Regions from separate parts of the Homo sapiens genome. Here region 1 is linked to region 2. The links are contacts of gene promoters, found by promoter capture Hi-C in human tissues and cell types (Jung and others, 2019). All regions are on one chromosome and are shown on one strand. The core of a region is centred on a gene start or on the middle of the fragment in contact, and the rest is flanking DNA. Distances in the headings are between cores, read along the strand shown.

Region 1 (2,700 bases), core at 125-2,624, 150 kb before region 2:
TAGACCTCAACATACCCTACTTACCAGCTTTGTCTTTAGCCGCCCCTGAAAAACATCTCAAATCTCACATGTAGGCTTCGGAAAGTTTGTCCCAAATTCTGATGCCTTATTTTAAAGCTGTTGCCTTTTTCCTGGGCCTAAAAATGCACCGAATCTGAAAATTTTCCCAGGATGACAGGCCACCAGCTGGGAGGCCGAGATGCCTGGAGCCCTCGCAACCCAAAGCTAACGTGCCATGTGTCAACAGGGATCAGTTGAACCATGAATACAAAAAAAAAAAAAAAAAGAAAAGAAAAGAATGAAGGGCGAAGGGGACGAAGAGAGTAGGCCAAAGTGAGAAATCATCATGACAGCTTCCGGGGGTGGAAGAGGGGGGATTTTTCTTCCTGACCTTTTTGTACCTCAATGTTTCCACCAATATTATTTTTTCAACAAATACGCGTTATGTTAACATTAAGAATATTAAATCAAATGGCACAAATGAATAATTAAACAGAAAAGAAAGGATCTACTCGTCCAGCAGACCAGAATTCTCTTTCCAGTAGGACAAGTTTGGGCGGATCCATTCACAATCCTGCTGATGACCACAGGCCAGGCTCCTGCGACAGATGGAGGAGCTTAGAGGCTTGGGCTGGGCAGGGGATCAGAGGATCATATACAATCATACACGTGAATGACACATGGGATCATAGGTGATGCAAGGCGGCACCTGCTGGAAGGAGCTCAAGTTGCTGCTTTCATTGACCTGCCCCGTCCACCAGAGCAATTCTGGATGCACTTAGCAGACATCGGTGGAAAGAGAATATATGGAATTCAGGAGACTGAGTTCTATTCCCAGCTCTGCCTAGCACATTAGGTTTCCCCTGCCAATACCATTCTGCCATGGAAGAGGGAGGAGCGGCTTTTCTGCAGGATGAGGGAGCAAGCTAGGAGAAGGGGGAGAGTCACATTTTTCCAAGGACACGTTCCTTGAGAGCTTCAGAAAAGGTTCCACTGTATTCTTTCTCCTTCCAAAGCTACAGAGCTCAAGATTCTCCCCCACTTTCTTCCCTCCCTTTAGTTTTGTCCATTCATCAACACATATTTATGGAGTATCGCTACCATTGCAGGAACGGAGACGTGCGATATGGAATATAGTTATATGGAATAACTTAACCCTACTTGAACTTCTTCTCAAGTAAATGCTTCAAAAGGATGCCTGTCATCCCTGGGCGCGTGTCAGGGCGCATGTTAGGGCGTCATCTCAGGGCGCATGTCATCTGTTTCTAGAATCTGGATTTTCTGCTAATGTTTGTTTCAGCCTCTAGTGCTCAGTGCAAGGCAGGCAGGTGGAAGCAGGACCATGCAGGTACAGTGAGGCTCCCGGAAGACCTCCATGCTCAGATCTCCAGGTGCCCTGGGGCGGAACCTACCAGGGTCATTCTCCCAGGTTTGGGGGATGGGGGAGCTGCATGTGTTTTCCCACACCACGCTGGCACTGGAGACCAGGAATTTTTAAGCCAGGAAACTCAGCATCTCTGAAATTATCATGGGATCTCTTCCCGACATGGGCAAGGCAAACACTGGTTCAGGCTGGGATGAGGATGAGGTGAGAGGCCCCAGAATCTGCACTTGCACTTGTACCACCAGCACAGAGGATGTGCCTCACTTCCCACACCCAGTCCCAGCCCTGCACTGGGTGGCTGTATTTTTTCCAAGGGGCAGCCCCGGGCACCATGAGGCAAAGCGAATTGTTCCAGGCTACAGGAGAGCACAGGCACTGTGGCCCCCCAGCCAGGGAAGTGTCTGTGTCCTTTTTCCTCCATGCACTTTCCTGGTTATGGGACTACATGGGAGGGAGCTGTGCTGCTCCTCAGTCTGAGAAATTAAGACATCTAAAATCAAGTTGACATTATTCTTCAGCTTATTTTCCAAACGGATCCAGAACCCCCTCCCCTGCTATTGCCCTGCTTATTGGCACCCCCTCCAATCCTCAATTAATTCACTAATTTATTCAACCGACACTTGCTGAGCACCTACAAATCAGTGTCTCGGCCCTCAGGGAGCTGGCAGTCTAGCTGAGAGGCAGATATTGATCAAACAGCAACATGGGCTGGGTGCAGTGGCTCAGGCCTGTAATCCCAGCACTTTGGGAGGCCAAGGTGGGTGCATCACCTGAGGTCAGAAGTTTGAGACCAGCCTGGCCAACATGGTAAAACCCCATCTCTCTCTCTCTCTCTCTCTCTCTCTTTTTTTTTTTTTTGAGACAGAATCTCGCTCTGTCACCCAGGCTGGAGTGCAGTGGCACCATCTCGGCTCACTGCAACCTCCACCTCCCGGGTTCAAGTAATTCTCCTGCCTCAGCCTCCTGAGTAGCTGGGATTACAGGCATGCACTACCACACCCCGCCAATTTTTGTATTTTTAGTAGAGATGGAGTTTCACCATGTTGGCCAGGCTGGTCTCTGTCTCACGTGTCCGTGTGAAGAGATCACCAAACAGGCTTTGTGTGGGCAACAAAGCTGTTTATTTCACTTAGGTGCAGGGGGACTGAGTCCAAAAAGAGAGTCAGCAAAGGGTGGTGGATTATCATTAGTTCTTATAGGTTTGGGGATAGGCGGTGGAGTTAGGAGCAATGTTTTGTGGGCAGGGGGTGGATCTCACTAAGTACATTCTCAAGGGTGAGGAGAATTACAAAGAACTTTCTTACGGGTGGGGGAGA
Region 2 (2,700 bases), core at 199-2,698:
CACGGACCACACTCCTTCAGAACTCTTGCCTGGTTTTTAATTATTCACTCATTAGTATCACAATTGGATTAATACTGCATTCCCTCAATAGACTACGCTCCATGAGACCAGAGCCGTGTCTGCTGTGTTTCTGCAGGATGTACAGCCCTCCCAGCACGGTGCTCGCTTCCCTAATGCCATTCCACAGTATTTGTTGCAGAGAAGGAAGCAGCATGCCAGGACAGATGGAGACAGGACTAATTTGGCTTGAGGTATGTAATTTTGAACTTGAGCCTCTCTCTGGGACTGTAAAACTCCAAATCAAAGTCTTAATCTGAGAATACATACATCTGAAAGAGTGATTAGGGACTGGTAAACATCTATTAATATTCAACTCTGATACAAAGTACAAGTTGTTTATTCTTACCACGCAAGGCCAAAAAAGGGGAGAAAAAAAAAAAAGCACACAGCATATGCACTGGGAAAGCTTTCGCTTATTCAAAACAGTATTTGTCAAGCACCTCCAGGTCTGGGTGCTGCAGGGGAAACAAAGATTAAACAGCCAGGGCTTTGCTTCCAAGGTGCTTACGGTCTTAAGAAGGAGACAAGACATGTTTATAAATAGCCAAAATGCAACCCAGAAAAGGCTAAAAAACACTGAGAGGGAGGGAGAAATAAACGAAGCAAGAGGTCTCCGGAGGAAGAGATGAATGAATTAGCCTATTAATAACTCCTCACTGTAATCCCAATGTAAAGCAAGGAATTCCAAACCAGGAAAGGTCAAACTGAAGTATTTGAGGAACACAGGCGTCGCCCTAAGCCCTTCACAGGCTCGCTGGGGATAATATCGCAGCTGAAACCGAACATCAAGCTGGCTTTTCAAACCTTCAGTTATTTACATTAGACTGAGAGGGGAAAAGCGCTAAGAGTGCAAGAGCAGAGAAAGAGCAAGAGGAAACTTGAAAAGGCGGATCACGCCAATGCGCTGTGCACAGCGCCCCCGCGCCCCGCGCACCCGCTACCCCACCCGAGCCCCCAGCGGCCCGCGTCCCCCATCCCGGTCCCAAGCCCAGACACCTCCGAGATCCGTCCCCCGGCTCCGGCCGGCGCCACCGCCACCCTCAAGACCCCCGCAGCCCAGGCCCGGCCCCGCGCCACCGACGCCCCCCGCGGCCCGACCCGCGCGCCCCGCCAGCCCGGGCCTCGTACCGTAGGTTTCGGACATGGCCGTCTGCGACATCTTGGGAGCGGCGCCGCCTCTCGCCGGGTCACCGGCTGCACTCGCCCGCGGTCCGCCGGCGCGTCTCGGTGGGGAAGGACCTGGGGCGGGGGACCGGAGGAGGGAGGGGCCCGACCGGTCCCCACGGCAACCGCCGGTCTCCCAGCGGCTGCGGCCCAGCCGGACTCCAGCTCCGCGCAGGCGCAGGGCCCTCCACCCTCCGTCCGGCCGCGACCGCGAGGAGGAAGAGGAGATGGGCTACGCGAGGCCCGGCCCACCCCGCGTTCGCGCGTGCGCACGGGGAGGCCGGGGCGGGGCGCGTGAGGACTTCGGCGCGCGCCGGAAGCACGTGCGCGGGCTGGGCGCTCTGGCGGTGTGCGCTGAGGTGGGCAGAGCGGCAGGTGGGGGCGTTGGGGGCTGAGTCCCGATTTCCCTGAGGGAGGGTCGGGTAGAGGCGGGCGGTGGGCAGGTTTGGGGGTGACAGAGGGCTGGGGACAGTGGGGTCCAGTTGCCGGACAGAGGAGGAAGGTGCCCGCACTGGGGAGGAAAGCAGTCCATTTGCCAAATTGGCCCGTCTCAGTTAAGACGTTGTCTTCGGTCATCATCTGCGGCTGTCAGCCAGGAAAAAACTTCCCTGACGCTGTTACGATGGAGGCCAGAACTTGGTTAATGTGTAACAAGGAGGCAGTAGGCCCCAGGTGTCCAGCCAGAGGCCGCCCTGTGAATGGGAGGCAGGTTCATTTACCCGTTGGGAAGCTAAGCTTTCACTCCAAACTGCCGGGCCCTCTTGGATGGAGCTGAGCGGGTGTGGGCGGAATGACAGAAGCGCAAGATGCCCAGGTGCTAAAAGGTCATCGCAAGACTACAGGCTGCAGCCTCTCCACATCCCATTTTAGAGGGTTCTGGATTACGGTTGAGAAGTATCTCCCGGCCCTCAGCTGGGGATGTGTTTCCAAATTTAGGAGTTTTTTTAATTTTTATTTTTTAACAGGGTCTGGCACTGTCAGCCCAGCCCAACCGATTCTCCTGCCTCAGCCTCCTGAGTAGCTGGGGCTAGGGGCTCACACGACCACACCGCGCCAATTTTTAAATTTTTTGTAGAGATGGGGTCTTGTTATGTTGCCCAGGCTGGTCTTGAACTCCTGAGTTCAAGCATCCTCCCTCCTTGGCCTCCCAAATTGCTGGGATTACAGGCATGAGTCATCTCACCTGGCCTTGGATAGTTTGGTTTCAGAAGCAAAACTGAGTTAGAATCCCCTTCTGTGGGAAATGTAGAGATAAACATTTATGGGAAAGAGAATTTTGGTTGAGGATTTGGCCCATCTGAGCTTGATCAGGGCCACATAGCGCCTCATAGTTCCCAACCTTGTTCACAATAGGTAGTCGAATGCTCAAAATATCCTTGGCTAAGCTCCCAAGTGACCTGGACTGTGTGGAAAATGCCAGTACATACTTTTGTGTGTGTGTGTGTGAGTCAGTTTGGCTCCATCCTCCACATAAAT

Evidence for each region. Contacts are between HindIII fragments. The study calls those that stand out against the background at their distance.
Region 1: a contact is called between a fragment that was not itself captured here and the fragment with the promoter of RAB4A in region 2, in 1 of the 25 tissues and cell types used here (dorsolateral prefrontal cortex).

What each region holds. Positions count from the first base shown.
Region 1 is chr1:229,418,936-229,421,635 of GRCh38, reverse strand. No RefSeq gene overlaps it. Among named protein-coding and RNA genes, the nearest start is that of ACTA1, 14 kb to the left of the region's middle. RefSeq lists an enhancer at 2,523-2,700. The HindIII fragment of the contact is 9,377 bases long and covers 1-2,700 here.
Region 2 is chr1:229,269,859-229,272,558 of GRCh38, reverse strand. RAB4A (RAB4A, member RAS oncogene family) reads right to left here and starts at 1,448. Exons shown (of 8, transcript NM_004578.4): 1 at 1,189-1,448. The coding sequence starts at 1,219. RAB4A-AS1 (RAB4A antisense RNA 1) reads left to right here and starts at 1,405. Exons shown (of 2, transcript NR_149313.1): 1 at 1,405-1,583. RefSeq lists silencers at 907-1,066, 1,107-1,636. The HindIII fragment of the contact is 8,116 bases long and covers 1-2,700 here.